4 separate regions of the Homo sapiens genome follow, and regions 1, 3 and 4 are each linked to region 2. Evidence: promoter capture Hi-C in 16 types of primary human blood cells and fetal thymus (Javierre and others, 2016). All regions are on one chromosome and are shown on one strand. Each heading gives the region's core, a stretch centred on a gene start or on the middle of the fragment in contact. The rest is flanking DNA. Distances are from core to core; before and after follow the strand shown.

What was found. Contacts are between HindIII fragments. The CHiCAGO score rates a contact against its expected background, and 5 or more counts as called.
Region 1: a contact is called between a fragment that was not itself captured here and the fragment with the promoter of DENND3 in region 2, in 1 of 17 cell types (total B cells). The highest score is 7.1, in total B cells.
Region 3: a fragment that was not itself captured here is called in contact with the fragment with the promoter of DENND3 in region 2 in 2 of 17 cell types (M1 macrophages and neutrophils); the score reaches 5.5 in M1 macrophages.
Region 4: a fragment that was not itself captured here is called in contact with the fragment with the promoter of DENND3 in region 2 in 4 of 17 cell types (M0 macrophages, naive CD4 T cells, naive CD8 T cells and 1 more); the score reaches 5.6 in M0 macrophages.

The regions. Positions count from the first base shown.
Region 1 is chr8:140,593,103-140,597,888 of GRCh38, reverse strand. All of the region lies in intron 1 of AGO2 (argonaute RISC catalytic component 2), which reads left to right. Among named protein-coding and RNA genes, the nearest start is that of ERICD, 39 kb to the left of the region's middle. RefSeq lists enhancers at 117-166, 1-398, 747-1,086, 4,068-4,117, 3,914-4,414. The HindIII fragment of the contact is 226 bases long and covers 2,617-2,842 here.
Region 2 is chr8:141,127,339-141,130,038 of GRCh38, reverse strand. It overlaps DENND3 (DENN domain containing 3), which reads right to left and starts at 1,450. Exons shown (of 23, transcript NM_001352890.3): 1 at 1,230-1,450. The coding sequence starts at 1,331. It overlaps DENND3-AS1 (DENND3 antisense RNA 1), which reads left to right. Exons shown (of 2, transcript NR_183310.1): 1 at 1-15. RefSeq lists enhancers at 359-1,189, 2,023-2,700 and a silencer at 1,045-1,904. The HindIII fragment of the contact is 7,380 bases long and covers 1-2,700 here.
Region 3 is chr8:140,503,841-140,509,145 of GRCh38, reverse strand. No RefSeq gene overlaps it. Among named protein-coding and RNA genes, the nearest start is that of CHRAC1, 4.8 kb to the left of the region's middle. RefSeq lists a silencer at 299-479. The HindIII fragment of the contact is 4,223 bases long and covers 1,673-5,305 here.
Region 4 is chr8:140,464,418-140,469,864 of GRCh38, reverse strand. LOC105375782 (a long non-coding RNA gene) reads right to left here and starts at 4,994. Exons shown (of 2, transcript XR_928707.3): 1 at 4,815-4,994; 2 at 2,926-4,080. RefSeq lists a silencer at 3,971-4,070 and an enhancer at 4,567-5,447. The HindIII fragment of the contact is 556 bases long and covers 2,644-3,199 here.

The sequences.
Region 1 (4,786 bases), core at 1,480-3,979, 530 kb after region 2:
AGCCCGGTGATGAGTGGAACAGGCGTGTGCGTTTCAGCAGATGAGCAGGAGATGTTGATGGATTTTGCTGCCTCGCTGATAAAAATAGACATTTATTCTTTTCAAGACAGGCAGAAAGGCTAAGATGTGTTATAACCCTGTGGGACGGAACTCAGATGGCAGTTTTTCATTTTTGATGTCTTTTTTTTTTTTCTTGATTCCTTTTCTCTTAAAATTAGGCCTCAGAAGCTAATCCTGTAGATCAGGCTGAAGCTGACAGGAGTGAGGCTGAAGCTGACAGGAGTGAGCCTGAGATTTCTGAATGCTCATTTATTTCTCCTTCCATCCTCAAGATTCAGGCTTGAAGCCAGGAGGCCATCCCCCAGGAAAGGGCCCCTCACTCAGGCAGGGAGGCCTGGGGCGGGGGGGGGGGGGTGGGGGGGCCACCCAGCCCCCATCGGTGTCCGTGGCTGCTGCCAGAAACGGAGTCAGAGAAAGTAATGTCAGCCAGACTTCAACTCCAGCTGGGTGTGAGCACCTTATGCCACCGCTGCCCACGCTGCCCTGCATCCGTGCTGCGCTGCGTTGGCACTGGAGAGGCTGGGAGGCTCTGGGAATTGGAATCCCTGGCTGTGCTTGCCGGAAAGGGTGTATGTAAATGAGGCGGTTTTCCTGCCACCTCTGCAGATGATTCAGCCCAGCAAGTGTGAAGAGGGAGGGAACGTCCCTGCCAGAGCTGGGACACAGTGCAGGGGCGTGGTTATAAATGAACGAAACAGCTCTTCTGCTGAGTTTTTTTTTCTTCTATACAGTTCCTCTGTGAGTTCCCTTTAACCATGACGTAAAACCCATTTTGTGGCTTTAGTCTTCTATTTCAAACAACATGTTCACCAGCAACGGTGCAGAACAGTGGGACGCACTCTGGGGCCAGGGTGCCTGTCTGCACCTTGGCTGGCTGGCACCCTCAGGCAGGTCCCCCTGGGCTGGTGGGCACCAGGGGAGTTCTCCCGGACAGGGTTGTGTCTCGCAGGATGAGACAGCGGTCACGACGACACAGCAGCCATGCGATGACGTGGGCCCGTCCCCCACCCCGGCCACTTGCCTCTCCCCTGCTGCTCCACCGACTCCTCCCAGCCTGCAGGTGACCCGGACGTGCTGCCTCACCTGTAGATGCCACTTTGTTCATCTGTGAGACTACGCTGGGAAAATGGGCTCACTGCAGATCTTGCATTGGGTACTTTTTAAATCTCTCTGGGCATCTGTTAAATGGCATAATGACTATCTGTGCTTACATCTTAAGCTTCTATTTTGCTTTTTTGTTTGTTTGAGATGGAGTTTTGCTCTTGTTGCCCAGGCTGGAGTGCAATGGTGCCATCTCAGCTCACTGCAACCTCCGCCTCCAGGGTTCAGGTGATTATCCCATCTCAGCCTCCCGAGTAGCTGGAATTACAGGCATGCGCCACCGTGCCCGGCTAATTTTGTATTTTTAGTAGAGACGGGGTTTCACCATGTTGGTCAGGCTGGTCTCGAACTCCCGACCTCAGATGGTCTACCCGCCTTGGCCTCCCAAAATGCTGGGATTACAGGGCATGAGCCACCACACCCAGCCAGCTTCTGTTTTCTTTAACTTAGGGATATATCAGAGAAAAATAGAATGATGTATCCAATATTCATCCTTCTCCCAGAGTTTGTTCATTTTTTAAAAATAATTTAGTTTTAAATAACAAATATAATAAACCTACTTAAAAAATACAGAAGCACAGGCCATGTGCAGTGGCTCACGCTGTAATCCCAACACTTTGGGAGGCCGAGGCAGGAGGATCGCTTGAACCCAAGAGTTTGAGACCAGTCTGGACAACACAGGAGGGCTCCATCTCTATAATATGTGTGTATGTGTGTGTGTGTATATATATATAATATATATATTATATAATATATATAATTTATATATATTATATATAAAATATATATTATATAATTTATATACATAATATATATTATATAATACATAATATATATAATTATATATTATATAATATACAATTGTATATAATATAAATATAATATATACAATTGTATATAATATAAATATAATATATACAATTGTATATAATATAATTGTATATACAATTGTATATAATATAATTGTATATACAATTATATATAATATATAACATTTACATATTATATAATATAATATTTATATATAATTATATATATTTTATATGCCAGGCTATATATATAATATATATAGCCTGGCATATAAATAATATATATATAATATATATATATATTATATATATAGCCTGGCATGATGGCACACGCCTGTAGTCCCAGCTATTTGGGAGGCTGGGACAGGAGGATCACTTGAGCCCTATGATCGCACCACTGCACTTCAGCTTCGGCAACAGAGTGAGATTCTGTCTCATAAGATAAAATAATAAATAAAATAAGATATAAAACGAATAAATAGAAGCATAGAGAAGAGTGGAAAGACTATAGCTTGACCACTCAGGAATAATCACGATAAATATTTTGTTTTATAATTCTTCCTTAAGTTTTCCCTTTCATACCCCAAATGTGTATGTGTGCATAATATAGGACAGATGGGATTGCATCAAACACCATTCTGAAGCTTTTTCCCACTTACAAGTACATGGAGCTCTTGCCGTGTGATCAATGGAGAAGCAGTGTCACTGAACTGTCCTCACAGTTCATTTAACCCATTTTCTCCTGATGGACCTTTCAGTCCTTCTCAGTCTTTTCGTGTGTAGACGCCTGGGTATTTCCTTAGGACAAATGCCTAGGTGTTGAGTTACCAGATCAAAAGGCTTGTAATTTTAAAAGCCTTCTGAAACAAGCTTGAAATCTCCCCACATGGATGGGAGTGGCCATTTTTTCTCATGCACTATCCAGTCATATCCCTCACCATTTCCTGTTGGAGTTTTTGATTTCATTAGTTTATATAAACTCTGTATATGTACGTTTATACCTTTAGGTTTGTGTATTTATGATGTCATAAAAATTTCCCAGTTTGTCATGCAATTAGAGAAATACACACACACACACACACACACACACACAGTTTTTTTCTTTCCGTCGAGACGGGTTCTCACTGTGTCAGCCAGGCTGGAGGGCAGAGGTGTGATCTCGGATCACTGCAGCCTTGACCTCCCCAGGCTCAAGTGATCCTCCCATCTCAGCACCCCCGAGTAGCTGGGACTACAGAGGCATGCCACCATGACTGGCTAATTTTCTATTTATTTTTATTTTTTATTTTTTTTTGTACAGATGGGATTTTGCCATGTTTCCCAGGCTAGTCTCGAACTTGTGGCCTCAAGTGATCCACCTGCCCCGGCCTCCCAAAGTGCTGAGATTACAGGTGTTAGACACCACACCCAGCCAAAAATCATCCTTTTGCAACCTCTTTTTGGTTCTAAGAAAGAGGGCCGGGCACGGTGGCTCATGCCTGTAATCCCAGAAAGAGCATTCCCACCCCAAAACTATAAAAGGTTATTAAATTTTAAAATATTTCTGTGGATATTTTTGTTCCATTTAAAAATACTATCTATTTACAGTTTCTATTTGAAATTTATTTTGTAATAGGATGTGAGAGGGAGCTCACCTTATTTTTTTCCTTCAAATATTCAGAAAATTGTTCCGACTGAGTTATTTCTCTCCTGTCCCCTTAACTGGCAAGCCCCCTCCAGCCAACCCGAGTGCTGCCAGTGGCTTGCCTGCCCATTCAGGGAGATGGTGATGGTTTTCCTCCCTGCCCTCTTCTGAAGACGAGCGCCCTGAGAGCAGGAGTAGGAGGTGCTCAGGCAGTGTAGGGTGAGTGGCATCGTGCGTTGAGGTAGAGTTTAGGAAACCCTTAGTGCAGGGCTTGGCACCGGCAGACCTCACTGGTGGGCAGGTATTCCTGTGCTCGCAGATGGAACTGAGTGAACCTGGTGAGGATGGATTGTCACGCATTTGGTTCCTCCAGCTCCTTTTGTTTGATTTAAGCATAGTTGTTATCGATTCAAGGCAGCGTGGCTTGGTGGCAAGGCTTGTGTGCTCTGGTAGCCGTGAGTGCTGTGTGTGAATCCCAGCTCTGCCTGTCAGACACCTCGGACCACATCTGTAGGATGGGGATCCTGCCTGCCTTGCCCGTGGTAAGGATTAAAGGAGCTGATTTGCCTGAAGGGGTCTGCATTGTACCTGACACAATGGTGGTGGCCATTGCTTCTTCAATTATGGGAACTTATGTTAAAAAGGGAAGTAAACATTTTATGTAAATATTGAGAAAAGTACTAGGTATCTAGGATGAATCAGTTACTGTAAAAGGGCACAAAGTTTTTTTTTTTTTTTTTTTTTAACTTTCCTAGCTGCTTAGCACAGATACGAGGCATGAGGGTGGCAGATCAGTGTATGTCGGCCGGGCACAGTGGCTCACACCTGTAATCCCAGCACTTTGGGAGGCCGAGGCGGGTGGATCACCTGAGGTCAGGAGTTTGAGACCAGCCTGGCCAACATGGTGAAACCCCGTCCCTACTAAAAATACAAGCATTAGCTGGGTATGGTGATGCACGCCTGTAATCCCAGCTACTCGGGAGGCTGAGGTGGGAGAATCACTTGAACCCAGGAGGCAGAGGTTGCAGTGAGCTGAGATCACGCCACTGCACTCCAGCCTGGGCGGCAGCGAGACTCCATCTCAAAAAAAAAGTTTTGGTCTATTTTTATTGATACGTAATAGGTGTATATATTTTCAGGGAACATACATGTGTTAGGTAGGTCAGATTCTTGTATGTTTTGGGTGAAAAAA
Region 2 (2,700 bases), core at 201-2,700:
TCTGGCAAATTCGAGGTAGGGAGACAAATCAATCGATGACGTTGCGAGGAGACAGAGGTCAAACGGGATCTACTGACATGACAGGGCGTTGAAGGGAAGGAAAAGTTGAGGGAAACGAGGAAACTATTTCCATAGGAGAATGCTTTTTCACTGAAGTCGAAACTGGCTTGGTACTGACGCCCAGCAGGGGAAACTCCCCGGACACTCACAGACATTCATCTGGTTACTTGCAGGAACATCTGCCTTTCCTGGTGACACCCTCTGCCCTGCAGTCTTCATTTTCCCTGGATAGCCCAGCGTCATTTAAATACTCAGAAGCCTCTCTGCCTTTCTATGCTGTTGTCTGCAAAGAGATGAACGGACCTGTGCAGACGGCTGGCCAGTGACGCCGGGATCTCTAGGTAACATGACCCAGTCACGGTGTCACAGACAGGCGGACCAGGAGGAAACCAGAGACACAGATGGATTCCAGGGAAAGCCAGCGTTACAGAATTAAGAAAAGCTGGGGAAGAAAAAGGAAAACGAGAATTTCCAAAACTGCCGCTTTCCCAGCAGAAGGGAGATGAAGTTGTCACTTTGGCTGCGAGGGTGCAGAGATGGAGGAAGGGTTGGGGGTGGGGGTGGTACCGCAAGGGAGAAAAATAGCTATAGGCTTCATCGCAAAGGGGTTCATGCAGAATACGCGAGGCCGGCGGCTAACTCTAAGATTGCTCTCTCGTTATTCTGTGCCTGGTGCAAAACCCACTACTCAGGGGACAACACATCCCAGCATAAAGAATGAAATCATTTCAGCAGCGAGGGCTGGGCCCGCTAGACCGTGAGGCTCCGGCGGCTTCCGCCCGTTGTCTGGTGCACCCCACCTTCAGAAGCACCTGCCCAAGATGGGAGCGACTGAAGAGAGAGGCCCCAGAGACTCTCCGAGGGGCGGCACCCCCAGATTCCCGGCCGGCGGACCAAGTTCGCAGCTCTCAAAAGACATGTCTCACACCAAGGGCCCCGGGCGGGGAGAGGAGAGAAGAGGGGAGGGGAGCAGGGCGCTGCTCCAGGGCACCTGCCTGAGCTCGGGCGCGATCCCCGGCCACAGGCGCGCGGGGTCACCGCCGGGGGACCGGGACTCAGCCCTCGGAAAGTCCGCGCCAACCCACAGGGCACCCGGGCGCCCGCTCTCCGACTGCTGTCCCGGCTGCCGACTCGTGGCCCACGTCCGCCTCAGTTTCCCCGCCCCTCACCTGCTCGAGACTTCGGAGACTGTCCCGGGGGGCGCCCAGCAGCGCGCAGAGCTCCAGCAGCCCCGAGGGCAGCGACAAGTGCGGCGACGCGGCCTCCGCCATGGCTGCCCGCCGCCCGCCGCCAGTACCGCACTCGGGCGCCTCAGCCGCGCAGTCGCCCGCAGACCCCTGGGGACCAGCCGCGCCGCCTGGGGGCCGGGGGCGCTGCGAGCGCCGTCTGCGGGGCGGGGCTGGAGGCGGGGCCTGGAGGGGCGGGGCCCGAGCCGAGGCGGGGCCTGGAGAGCCCCAGAGGATACCGCGGGGAGACAGAGTTTGGGGGCGGGGCTTGACTGGGCGGGGAGGTTCTGGGCGGGGCCTGGAGTGGCGTGCCCGGCCCTAGGGACCGGGACTTGGGGGCGGGGCCGGTCCTAGGGCGGGTGCTGCTGGAGACCCGCGCGCGGTCGTCATTTCCTAACCCGCCTGCGGGCCCTGGCGCGTGCGCGGCGTCGGAGCAAGCGGCCCCTTCCTTCGGCCCCGCCCAGCCCCGCCGGCCGCCCGCTCCCTGGGGAACCGAGGGAGGAATGGGCGGGGTCCTCAGGTGCCCGGCGACGTCATCCAGCCCCCAAGGCTCCAGGACGCAAAGGGTCCCCTGATCTGGCAGTCCCTGGACCTACCCTGGAGAGCGTGGGGGGACAAAGGCCGGACGCGCCGCCCGCTGCCGCCTCCAGGAAGCCCTCCCTTGCCAGGACAGTGGAGTTGGCCGGGTGTGGACAGCAGGAAGGGCCGGCGGGAAGGGGGGGTGGAAAGAGCCACTCCTGGTTAATAACTCTGCGGGGTTAACCTAGGGCCGGCCATACTCAAGTACGGACTTGAGTAAAATTCAGCAGGAAAAGGAGCAGGGTGGGCGCCGCTAGAGGGAGGCTTCAGGACTGAGGGTCAGAGGCCCAAGGCCTGGCAGGGCCCTTCCCTGGTCAGCTCCAGGCTTGGCCTGATGCCCGGTGGGCCACGGGCCTCTTCCAGCCTCAGGCTGACCCCAGAGAAAGAGGACAGCCCACAAGCCCGGGAGGCCGGCTTGCTGCCTGGTCATTGCTGCAGAGCCTGGAGGGGGCCTGCGCTCAGTCCCCGCTGACCGTCCCCTCCCTTGACCCTGCCATAGCCATCTGTGTAACCCAGGGGAAATTATTCCAAAGGGACTTCCACTTCTGATAATCTATGATTCTATTTTCTAAAAAACAAAACTCTAAAATGCTTAATGTCAAACATCTGTCATCAGCTGAACAGGAAAAGGAACAGTAAGTACAAAGCAAGGCAACATCAGAAAAGGGAGCCCTGAGGAATTTCTCCCTCCTTCCCTGAGCCGGGTGAGGCCGTGACTGCAGCCTGACTCACAGGTTTTATTTCACTTATTAACCTAAAGATGGTGAGGATCTGCTGGTTCTCCCCCAGGCCTGGAGGCTGCCTACCATCGGTGGCTCTCATCGGTGAGCTGAGG
Region 3 (5,305 bases), core at 2,535-5,034, 620 kb after region 2:
ACTTTCATTCCAAGAGTAATGGAAAATAATGAAGAATTTTGAACTCGAGGTGGTGCATGCCTGTAATCCCAGCACTTTGGGAGGCTGAAGCAGGCAGATCGCTTGAGCCCAGGAGTTTGAGATTAGCCCGGGCAGCATAACAGGGCAGCATCTCTACAAAAATTTTATTTTTGGCCGGGCGCGGTGGCTCACACCTGTAATCCCAGCACTTTGGGAGGCCGAGGGGGGGCAGATCTCCTGAGGTCAGGAGTTCGAGACCAGCCTGACCAACATGGCGAAACCCCGTCTCTACTAAAAATACAAAAAATTAGCCGGGCATGGTGGCACGCGCCTGTAATCCCAGCTACTTAGGAGGCTGAGGCAGGAGAATCGCTTGAACCCGGGAGGCGGAGGTTGCAGTGAGCCAAGATCACGCCACTTGCACTCCAGCCTGGGCAACAAGAGAGAAACTCCATCTCAAAAACAAACAAATCCAGACCAGCCTGGCTAACATGGCAAAACCCCCTCTCTACTAAAAATAGAAAAATTGGCTGGGCATGGTGGTAAGCACCTGTAATCTCAGCTGCATTGGCGGCTGAGGCAGGAGAATCACTTGAACTCAGAAGGTGGAGGTTGCAGTGAGCACAGATCACACCACTGCACTCCAGCCTGGGCAACAGAGCAAGACTCTCAAAAAAAAAAAGTTTTGAAGGGAGCAGATCCACTTTAAAAGCTCACACTGGTTCTTGAGTGATGACCAAATGGCACTGTGCCTTATGCAGAGCCGACTCCTGGCAGTTTGCACAGGCTGGAGGTGGAGCTGCAGACTCCCTCTCCCTCTCGGCCTTGCCTCTGTAAATGGGAAAGCCGTTGACATTCACAAAAGAGGGGCAGGGAACTGCTACACAAGAGCAGCTACACAAGAGGGTCCTTTGGTCCACACAGGAAACAAGCCATAGTGATGACATATTTTGAAGCTGTTAGATGTTTTGTTTCCCTAGCTGGCTATTATTTTTGTATGGCTTGTCTTTCTCTTTTGAGTATGTGTGAGAACAGGATGGGTTAACATTAGGGAAGAGCACAGAAGAGGAAGGAAGGAAAGAAGGAAGGGAGGGAGGGAAAGGAGAGAGAATAGGGATGAGAAGCTCAGCTTGTAGAATTGGCAGGTGATGTTTGCAGTCATTAATCATTTGAGAAGTAGAGAGAGAAGCCAAGCAGGAAATCTTCATACTGGAAAAGAAGTGCTCACCATTAAAAAAAAAAAAAAAAAAAATCCAGTGTGGTTCACAGCTGTAATCCCATCACTTGGAGGCTGAGGCAGGAGAAATACGTGAAGCCAGGAGTTTGAGACCAGCCTGGGCAATATAACAAGACCCACATCTCTACAAAGAGAAAAAAAATGTAAAAAAAAGAAGCTTTAAACCTAAGACGGCAGAATTCAAGACTGTTGTCCTTGAGAACTTCCTGGCTCTGGAAAAAGCTCAGTGAGTTAGTCTCATCCTGTCGTTAGCTCTGTTTTTTAGGGGCTCACTTTGTCTTCACGACAGTACCTTGCACCATTCTCATGGGTATCCCAGGGTGGTGCAAGGCAGTTTTCTGCACTTCCCAGAATGCCCTGTCAGCTGGCTTCTGGGTAGGTTCTGCAAATTGGAGGCCCCTGTGAAAGATCGCTGTGGGGTGGGAGGAAGAAGCTTTATCTGCCTGCTGGCTGCAGGGTAGAGGACTGCAGTGGGGTTATAGGGATCACCACCTGCACATGTGGAGCTTTGAGCGGCTTCACTCTAAGTTTCTGCTCAACAGTGGCAGCCCTGGAGTCCTTCGGGGGCGAGTGTGGGCTCCTGGGCTCCAGGCCAGGGGCAGTCCCAGCTTCCTGATCTCGAGGTAGCGTCTCCTCCCTTTTGCTCCATAGCACCTCGCCCTTCTCAGTGACGTGCCTCCTTCTCAGTCATGCGCCTCCAGCTCTAACAATGTCCTTGAAAACAATTCTTGACCATGCGCCGTGGCTCACGCCTGTAATCCCAACACTTTGGGAGTCTGAGGCAGGCGGATCACTTGAGGTCAGGAGTTTGAGACCAGCCTGGCCAACATGTAATCCCAGCTACTCCCTCCACTTGATTTGTGTTCCTTGAAGAAATTTGCATAATCCCTGTATCTGGTTGGCAGATAGCAGAGATGTAGCCTCAGTCTTTCCTTTAAAAATTTTGCTTTAGGCAGGGCGCGGTGGCTCACACCTATAATCCCAGCACGTTGGGAGGCCAAGGTGGGCAGATCATGAGAGCAGGAATTTGAGATCGGCCTAGCCAATATGGTGAAACCCCGTCTCTACTAAAAATATAAAAATTAGCTGGGCGTGGTGGCACAAGCCTGTAATCCCAGCTATTTGGGAGGCTGAGGCAGGAGAATCGCTTGAATCCAGGAGGCAGAGGTTGAGATGAGCCGAGATCACGCTATTGCACTCCAGCCTGGGCAACAGAGGGATACTCCATCTCAAAAAAAATTTTTTGCTTTAGGGCCAATCGTGGTGACACACGCTTGTAATTCTGGCACTTTGAGAGGCCGAGGCAGGTGGATAATTTGAGGTCAGGGGTTCGAGAGCAGACTGGCCATGATGGTGAAATCCCATCTCTACTAAAAATACAAAAAAAGCCAGGTATGGTGGCATACGCCTGTAATCCCAGCTACTCGGGAGGCTGAAGCAGGAGAATCACTTGAACCCGGGAGGTTTAGGTGGCATTGAGCCGAGATTGCACCACTGCACTCCAGCCTGGGTGACAGAGCGAGACTCCATCTCAAAAAAAAAAAAAAGGGCCGGACGCGGTGGCTCACGCCTTTAATCCCAGCACTTTGGAAGGCCGAGGCGGGTGGATCACCTGAGGTCAGGAGTTCAAGACCAGCCTGGTCAACATGGTGAAACCCCGTCTCTACTAAAAACATTAAAAAATTAGCCGGGCATGGTAGTGGGCGCCTGTAATACCAGCTACTGAGGAGGCTGAGGCAGGAGAATTGCTTGAACCCAGGAGACAGAGGTTGCAGTGACCTGAGATTGTGCCACTACACTCCAGCCTGGGCAACAAAGCAAGACTCTGTCTTAAACAAACAAAAAGCCCAGTGTGGTGGTGTATATTTGTGGTCCTAGCTACTTTGAAGGCTGAGGTGGGAGGATTGCTTGAGTACAACATGTAGAGGCTGCAGTGAGCTGTGATTGTGCCACTGCACCCCAGTGTGGGTGACAGAGCAAGACCCTGTCTCAAAATAATAAAATTAACATTCATTAACAATAATGTTAATATATATGTTAATGTATATGTTAATCGTAATGTTTATATTTTACCATGATAAAAACATTTTAAAATCATATATCAACTCTTGCCGTTCTCCTGTTGAAAACTCTCCAATGACTTCCCACTCCATCATCCTGTGGGATGGGTCCACCATGCTGGACCACAAGGCTCTGCACAATGCGGCTCCCACCAGCCTCTCCCCTTGGCCCAGATTGCTTCCTCCTACCCCTTTCTCTAGCTGCCAGGCCCCCCAACCCCCGCATGGAGCCCTTCAGCAGCTCTGTGAGCTCCCTGCCTGTTGGCAGCCATCACAGCAACGGGCTCTGGTGTGCCCCTTGTTATCCCTGTATTCAGGCCATTATCTGTAATGACAGCCTGGCATAATTTTATTTTCACAATTTGTATAATTATATTCTATTGAGCTAAATGATCATTATAATCATTATTAAATATTTATTAAGCACTTCTAGCTGTGCAAACATAATAAGATGTGGCCTCAGCTCTTAAAATCTTTCTTCCTAATTCCAACCCAAATTCATTTCAACTTAACCAATCTTCCTTCTTGGAGAAGGAGGGAACTTCGGCGTTTTGTCTGGGTTTCCATGCCCGAGCTTATAGGAGCTTCTTAGCAATGCTGTGGAGCAGATGCTATTGACTTCAGTTTACAGATAAGGAAACAATCAGACTGAGGAAGCTAGTATTAATAAGTAGCAGAGATTAAGATTTGCCTGTGGTTCTTTTTTACACAAAGCCTCTCCCACTCCTTTCATGCACTGTTAGCCAAGTTTACTAGAATAGGCAACTTCCTTTTTAAAAAATCCTGTTTACATTTTAGGTGCCAAACACTGTGCTAATCCAGTGGGGGAAACATATGCTCAAAAAGATCACTCTGAGACCAGGCATGGTGGCTCATGCCTGTAATCCCAAGCCTTTGGGAGGATGAGGTCTGAGGACTGCTTGAGGCCAGGAGTTTGAGATGAGCCTGGGCAACATAGTAAGGCCCCTTCTGTACAAAAAATTTAAAAACTAGCCAGGCCTGGTGGCATGTGACTACAGGCTGCAGTAAGCTATGATCGTGCCACTGCACTCCAGCCTGGGTGACAGAATGAGACCCTGTCTCTAAAAACAAAACAAAACTCAAGCAGTATCCTAAGTCAGGGTCCAAGCAGTAATGGAAATGGGTGAAGCTGACAGGCGAGTGATAGAGAATGGAGGGGTCTGTAGCAAACGTGACGACTCTGGCTTACCTAAGAGGGCAGCCAATTTTGCCATGAGGCAATGTGGGATCAGTGAGTGCTGTTCCAGTCTTCAATTTCGATTTATAAGTAAAATCTCCAATATTTTATATGTTGGCAACTTTGGCATTCCTTTCCTTAAACCTCACTGCCACCCCGCACCCCAATTCATTTCAGTAGGGATCAGATAGCCAACATCCTTATAAAATCAAAAGTATACAGGCCGGGTGCAGTGGCTCACACCTATAATCCCAGCACTTTGGGAGGCCGAGGCAGGCGGATCACGAGGTCAGGAGATCGAGACCATCCTGGCTAACATGGTGAAACCCCGTCTCTACTAAAAATACAAAAAAAAAATTAGCCGGGCGTGGTGGCAGGCGCCTGTAGTCTTAGCTACTTGGGAGGCTGAGGCAGGAGAATGTTGTGAACCCGGGAGGCGGAGCTTGCAGTGAGCTGAGATCACGCCACTGCACTCCAGCCTGGGTGACAGAGCGAGACTCCATATCCCAAAAGAAAAAAAAAAAAAAGATACAAATCTTAATTGGCATAAACCAGTCCTAGTAATATCATGCCCTTTGGCCAGTCGTTGGTCACAGGGTGAGCTAATGACCCAACTCTGACAAATTACATGTAAGAGGAATACTGCTAAAAAGATATTTTCGGCCAGGCGTGGGGGCTCACACCTGTAATCCCAGTACTTTGGGAGGCCGAGGCGGGCAGATCACTTGAGGTCAGGAGTTTGAGACCAGCCTTGGCAACATGGTGAAACCCCATTTCTACTAAAAATACAAAAATTAGCCGGGCATGCTG
Region 4 (5,447 bases), core at 1,672-4,171, 660 kb after region 2:
CGAAACTCCATCTCAAAAAAACAACACAAAACAAAAAACCTCAGAGATCAGCGGAGGCAGAATTGAACCAGGCAACTTGTGTGGAACGAATTCTCGTAGCTGCTGGATGGTGATGTGGATGAAAGGAGGATGAGAGGAACCGGTCTGTGTGCACAGGCTGTGCTTCCCTCTCCCAGCCCGTGGGGAGTAGCTGCTTTCCAGACCCGGCTGTGCTTTGGAAAACACACATCTCAAGGCCACGCCCCCAGTGTTTTCATTCAGTAGTTCTGAGTCAGGCCAGGAAAATCATGGGGTATTTTTAACGGCTTGGACTTTCTCTGGAATCCTCTTTTTAATAATTTCTGAAACGACTTCAAACTTAAGTCGCAAGTACAGTACAAATAACTCATTTTCTTGAATTGGTTTAGAGTAAGTAGCTGAGGGATACCCCAGCGCCCCTGGAGAGCTGACTGTGTCTTTTCCACAAACAAGGATATTCTGCATAACCACAACACAGCCCTCAAGGTCAGGACAGTAACATCCATACGTGGCTGCCACAGGATCCTCAGGCTCTATTCAAGTTTCACCAGTTGTTCCAATTATATATAATATAAACATATAATATAAGGCAGCCACTTATATTTGTTCTATTAGCATATCTATGTTATATATATATATATATATATATATATATTTTTTTTTTTTTTTTTTTTTTTTTGAGACAGAGTCTCACTCACTCTGTTGCCCAGGCTGAAGTGCAGTGGTGAAATCTCAGCTCACTGCAACCTCTGCCTCCCGGGTTCAAGTGATTCTCCTGCCTCAGTCTCCCAAGTAGCTGGGATTATAGGCACCTGCCACAATGCCCGGCTAATTTTTTTTTTTTGTATTTTTAGTACAGATGGGGTTTTGCCATGTTGGCCAGGCTGGTCTTGAACTCCTGACCTAAGGTGATCCACCTGCCTCTGCCTCCCAAAGTTCTAGGATTACAGGCAAGAACCACCACACCTGGCCACAATAGTATATTTTTGTAGCAAAATGATCCAGTTCAGAATCACGCATAATACTTAGTTGTCACGTCTCTTTAGTCTTCTTTAACCTGGAAAGGTTTCTCAGGCTTTCCTTGATTTTCATGACCTCAGTGCTTTTGAAGGTCACAGGCTAGTGGTCGTGCAGAATGTCCCCATTTTGGTTTGTCTGTGGTTTCATCAAGATTAGACGCAGGGCATGCGTCCTTGGCGGGAACACCACAGGCATGTTGCTGGGCTCTCCTAGTTCCATCCTGTCAGGATATTTCCAGCCACTTATATTTGTCCTATTCGCACTGATGTTCAGTTTGATCTGAATCCTCTTTACCTGGTTCAGAAAAAGAAGGAAAGGGGCTGGGCATGGTGACTCCTGCCTATGATCCCAGTACTTTGGGAGGCTGAGGCCAGAGGATTGCTTGAGCCCAGGAGTTTGAGACTAGCCTGGGCAACATGGCAAAACCCTGTCTCTACCAAACAAAAATTAGCCGTGCCACGTGATGGCATGTGCTTGTAGTCCCAGCTACTTGATGTGATGAGGTTGGAGGATTGCCTGAACTTGGGAGTTGAGGCTGCAGTGAGCTGAGATTGCACCACTGCCCTCCGGGTGACAGATCAAGATTCTATCTAAAAAAAAAAAAAAAAAAAAAAAGAAGAAGAAGAAGAAATTGCAAAGGTATGGGTAATTGTGATTTTAAAAACTCCCAAACCCTCCATTTGATTTGTGTTCTTTGAAAAAATTTGCATAATCCCTGTAGCCTCAGTCTTTCCTTTAAAACTTTTGCTTTAACTCTGTTGTATTTAGGACATACAAAAGGTATAAAGAGGCCAGGCATAGTGACTTACGCCTGTAATCCCAACACTTTGGGAAGCAGGGGCGGGTGGATCACCTGAGGTCAGGAGTTCGAGACCAGCCTGACCAACATGGTGAAAATCCATCTCTACTAAAAAACAAAATACAAAAATTAGCCGGGTGTGGTGGCAGATGCCTGTAATCCCAGCTACTTGGGAGACTGAGGCAGGAGAATCCCTTGAACCATGGGGTCAGGGGTTGCAGTGAGCCGAGATCGTACAAAAACCAAAAGGTATAAAACCACGCATCAAAACCAAAAGGTATAAAGAATAAGGCAACTTGAATTATAATACAATAACTTGATATGTAATATACAACATATATTTCCAGTTGGATTACTAGATATTGTCTGTAACATATAAAATATATAATACAATATGATGTAATATATAATAACTTGAATTCTTAAGTAACCCAGTTCGAGAATAAGCCACTGCCAATTTAGTTAAATCTCGCTTGTGAATTCCCCCCCAGCTTCAGCCTACTCTCGATTTGCCCAGAACTCACTGACCTAAGCTCCACTGACAAAGTGACAGAAAAAATCCTGGGTTTCAGAAGCAATTTGAGGCAATTAGATGCAAATTCAGCCCAGATGAGGACGTTTGTTTTTCTAGTGTGGCTACCTAGCTTGTTCCGGCACCTGGTGGTCACACATGGAACTGCAGCTTCTCATACGTGATCCTTTTCGAATTTTTTTCCTTTCGAATCCTTTCTTTTCTTGAACTTTATTTTGTAACGTAAAATCTGATTTGCTTAAGTTGGACTTATCATAATTTTCTTTTAAAAGCTTTCTGGTTCTAACAGTGACTGCCCTGCATCGGTGAAAACACTTGGTTAAGCATTAACTGCTCAATTATCACAATTAATCTTTTGATATAATTTCTTGGTGTGTATGTGTGTTTGTGTACATAATTTTCCATTATTAATTCAAAAATGAATTGCTAATATATACTAGGTACTGAGGCAGATGCTGGTACAAAGTAAGAATAATCAGGATGGCTAATTAAAGTAATGCTTCTAATTATACCCCATGAAACAAGAAACTTCATTTATCTACAAAGGAAGGAAACCTGTCAGTAAATACTATTTATTGATCACCTATTATGTATCAGGTAACATGTTCCTTCCCAGAATATGTCACAGAGCACGTGCACTGTTTGAAATGTATTAAATGGTAAATGACAGTCATTAGTAGGCTGCTTTTGATGATCATTCTTGAGGCGTCTTTGGATGTTAAATTCATTGATGAAAGTTTGATGAACAGTCTACTTTGTTATCTCAAAGTATCATACAAATTACTTATTAATTACAGAGAAAAAAATAGGAACTTTACAGTGGAGAAGCTTGGCACCCTTCACCTTAACCAAGCAACCAATGTTACCATTACAAACAATGGGACAAACCCACATCATTTGCCTCCTGATATAATGCACCAAGGATGCCGCACCAAGGATGCCATCACTTCTGAGGTATTTTTGCAAAACATACATAACCTGAATCTAATCATGAGAAAGCATCATACAAACTCAAATTGAGGAACATTCTACAAAGTAGCTGGCCTGTATTCTTCCAACATATTAGAGTTGCTAACCTAAAAAAGACATCAGAGAAAGATGTCTCCTAATATAATTAATTTATTCAGGAGCAGGCAAAAAGGATGGTGCACCTGGCTATATGGCTATGGCAAGCCACAGGTGCACCTGAATAGGGCAGGGGTAAGTGGGAGCTCTTATTGGCCAAAAGTAGAAGTTCACATAAGCTGTCTGGAAACAGGTTTCTTTGGTTCTGGAGGCTCAAAGCCGGAGCGGCATCAATTTATTTTTGGAGATGCCGCTACTAGGCAAGTGTTCTTTGGAGAGCATCTTATTTGAATTGCTGTCGTCCGAAAGAATGCCTAGTGCTAAGCCTGGTCACAGAAATAACAGGGTGGCGCATGCCTGGAGTCCCAGCTACTCTAGAGGCTGAGGCAGGAGGACCGATTGAGCCCAGGAATTTGAGTCCGGTCTGGGCAGCACAGCAAGATCCCTGCCTCTAAATCAATAAATGTGTGCACATGTGCAAAACGTAGGTGGAGAAACGCATGAGACTTGTGACGTACATGAGGAATTCCTTGTGTGGTTATTATAGAAAGTCCTTGAGACAGTTCTTATCTCAAACATCAGCCGTCCTTTGTGCATTCCTGGCTTGGTGTGCTTGGGTCTGAGTAGAGTTGTCTCATCCTGGTAGCTGCAAGTTTCACAAAGACATGAAAGAGGAAGAAAGACTGAGACCCTGTTCTAGATAAAAGGATACTAAAAAAAGATTTGACAACTAATTGAAACAGTATGATTCTGGACAGAGGGGAAATAGCTATAAAGGACATAATTGGCACAGAGAGAGAGAGGAAGAATGTGAAAATGAGGCAAAAATGTAAAAATTGGTGATTATGGATAAAGGATATAATCACGATTCTTATTACAATGCGTGTCAATTTTGTGAATTTAAAAGTATACATATAAAGTACATATATAGTAATACATATAAATATAAACACCCCAAAAAGTGTTCCCGAAAGTAACAAGCTCTTTGAGAATAACTGATCTCTTTAAAAATGATTTATGTTTCATTATAAAATCAATGTATGTATGCTTAAAGAAAAAAAATGAGACAATATAGAAAAGTAAAAAGAAAACTCATCAGTCTCTGACACATGTCACAGCCCACAGCTACCTGGGAAGGCTGAAGAGTGCAATTTCAGCAGAATGTCAGGGGAGGAGCAGGATTGTACTAGGTGGAGAATATTCTAGACTGAAGGAACACCACAGAAAAGACAAGAAAGCGTGGAAGGGCGTGGCTTGAGGAAAAAGGTCGGGAAACTGGGGGTTGAAGAATGAACAGGTGAGATGGGTAAGGACTTCCAGAGAAGAATGACTACTGGGCTGGGGGGGGGTGACATCTGGGCCAGTCACAATTCTCCTCACGTGTCGCCTTCCACAATGCCAGGCACGCGCCTGGGGTTGAATACATATTTCTGGGCTGAATAACCGAATGTACAAAAGGCAGGCCCTAAATTTCCTCTCCGCCCCTTAGCGTGCCCCGCAGCGACATCGTCACAAGCGCGCGGCTTTTGGTCCCCGCCCTGGGCCTCAGGGCCTCGGGGCCGCGCGCGGGGCGTGGTCAGCCGGAGCTGTGACGCACCCGGGACGCAAGCCGAGGGCTCGGTTTCCACGGCAACAGGCGCTGGGCCCCTGTTTTTCCGCTCGCGCTCGTGCGTCACTTCCGGTCGCTCCCCTCTTTTTTTCAGCCTTGTGTAGGATAGGTTCCGATTGGGACCAACGTCGGGGTGGGAGTGGTACTGGGGAAGGGCTGTCCAAAATGAATCTTCGGTTCTGCGTGAAGAGCCGGGTGTCAGGCAGGTGGAGCTTGGCTTCCGTCCCCTAAGCCAATCGCTTTCCAATCCGTCCCCTAGGCGCTGCGGGAAATTGATGCCTCAGCTACCGGCGCTGGAGCATGCGCACTGCTACCGGAGGCGCCTCTGGGAAATCCAGTGCTCCGGGATTTCCACGCAGCCGGAGGGAATCCAGAGGGGCGAGTGATGGGCGTGGCATCAGGGG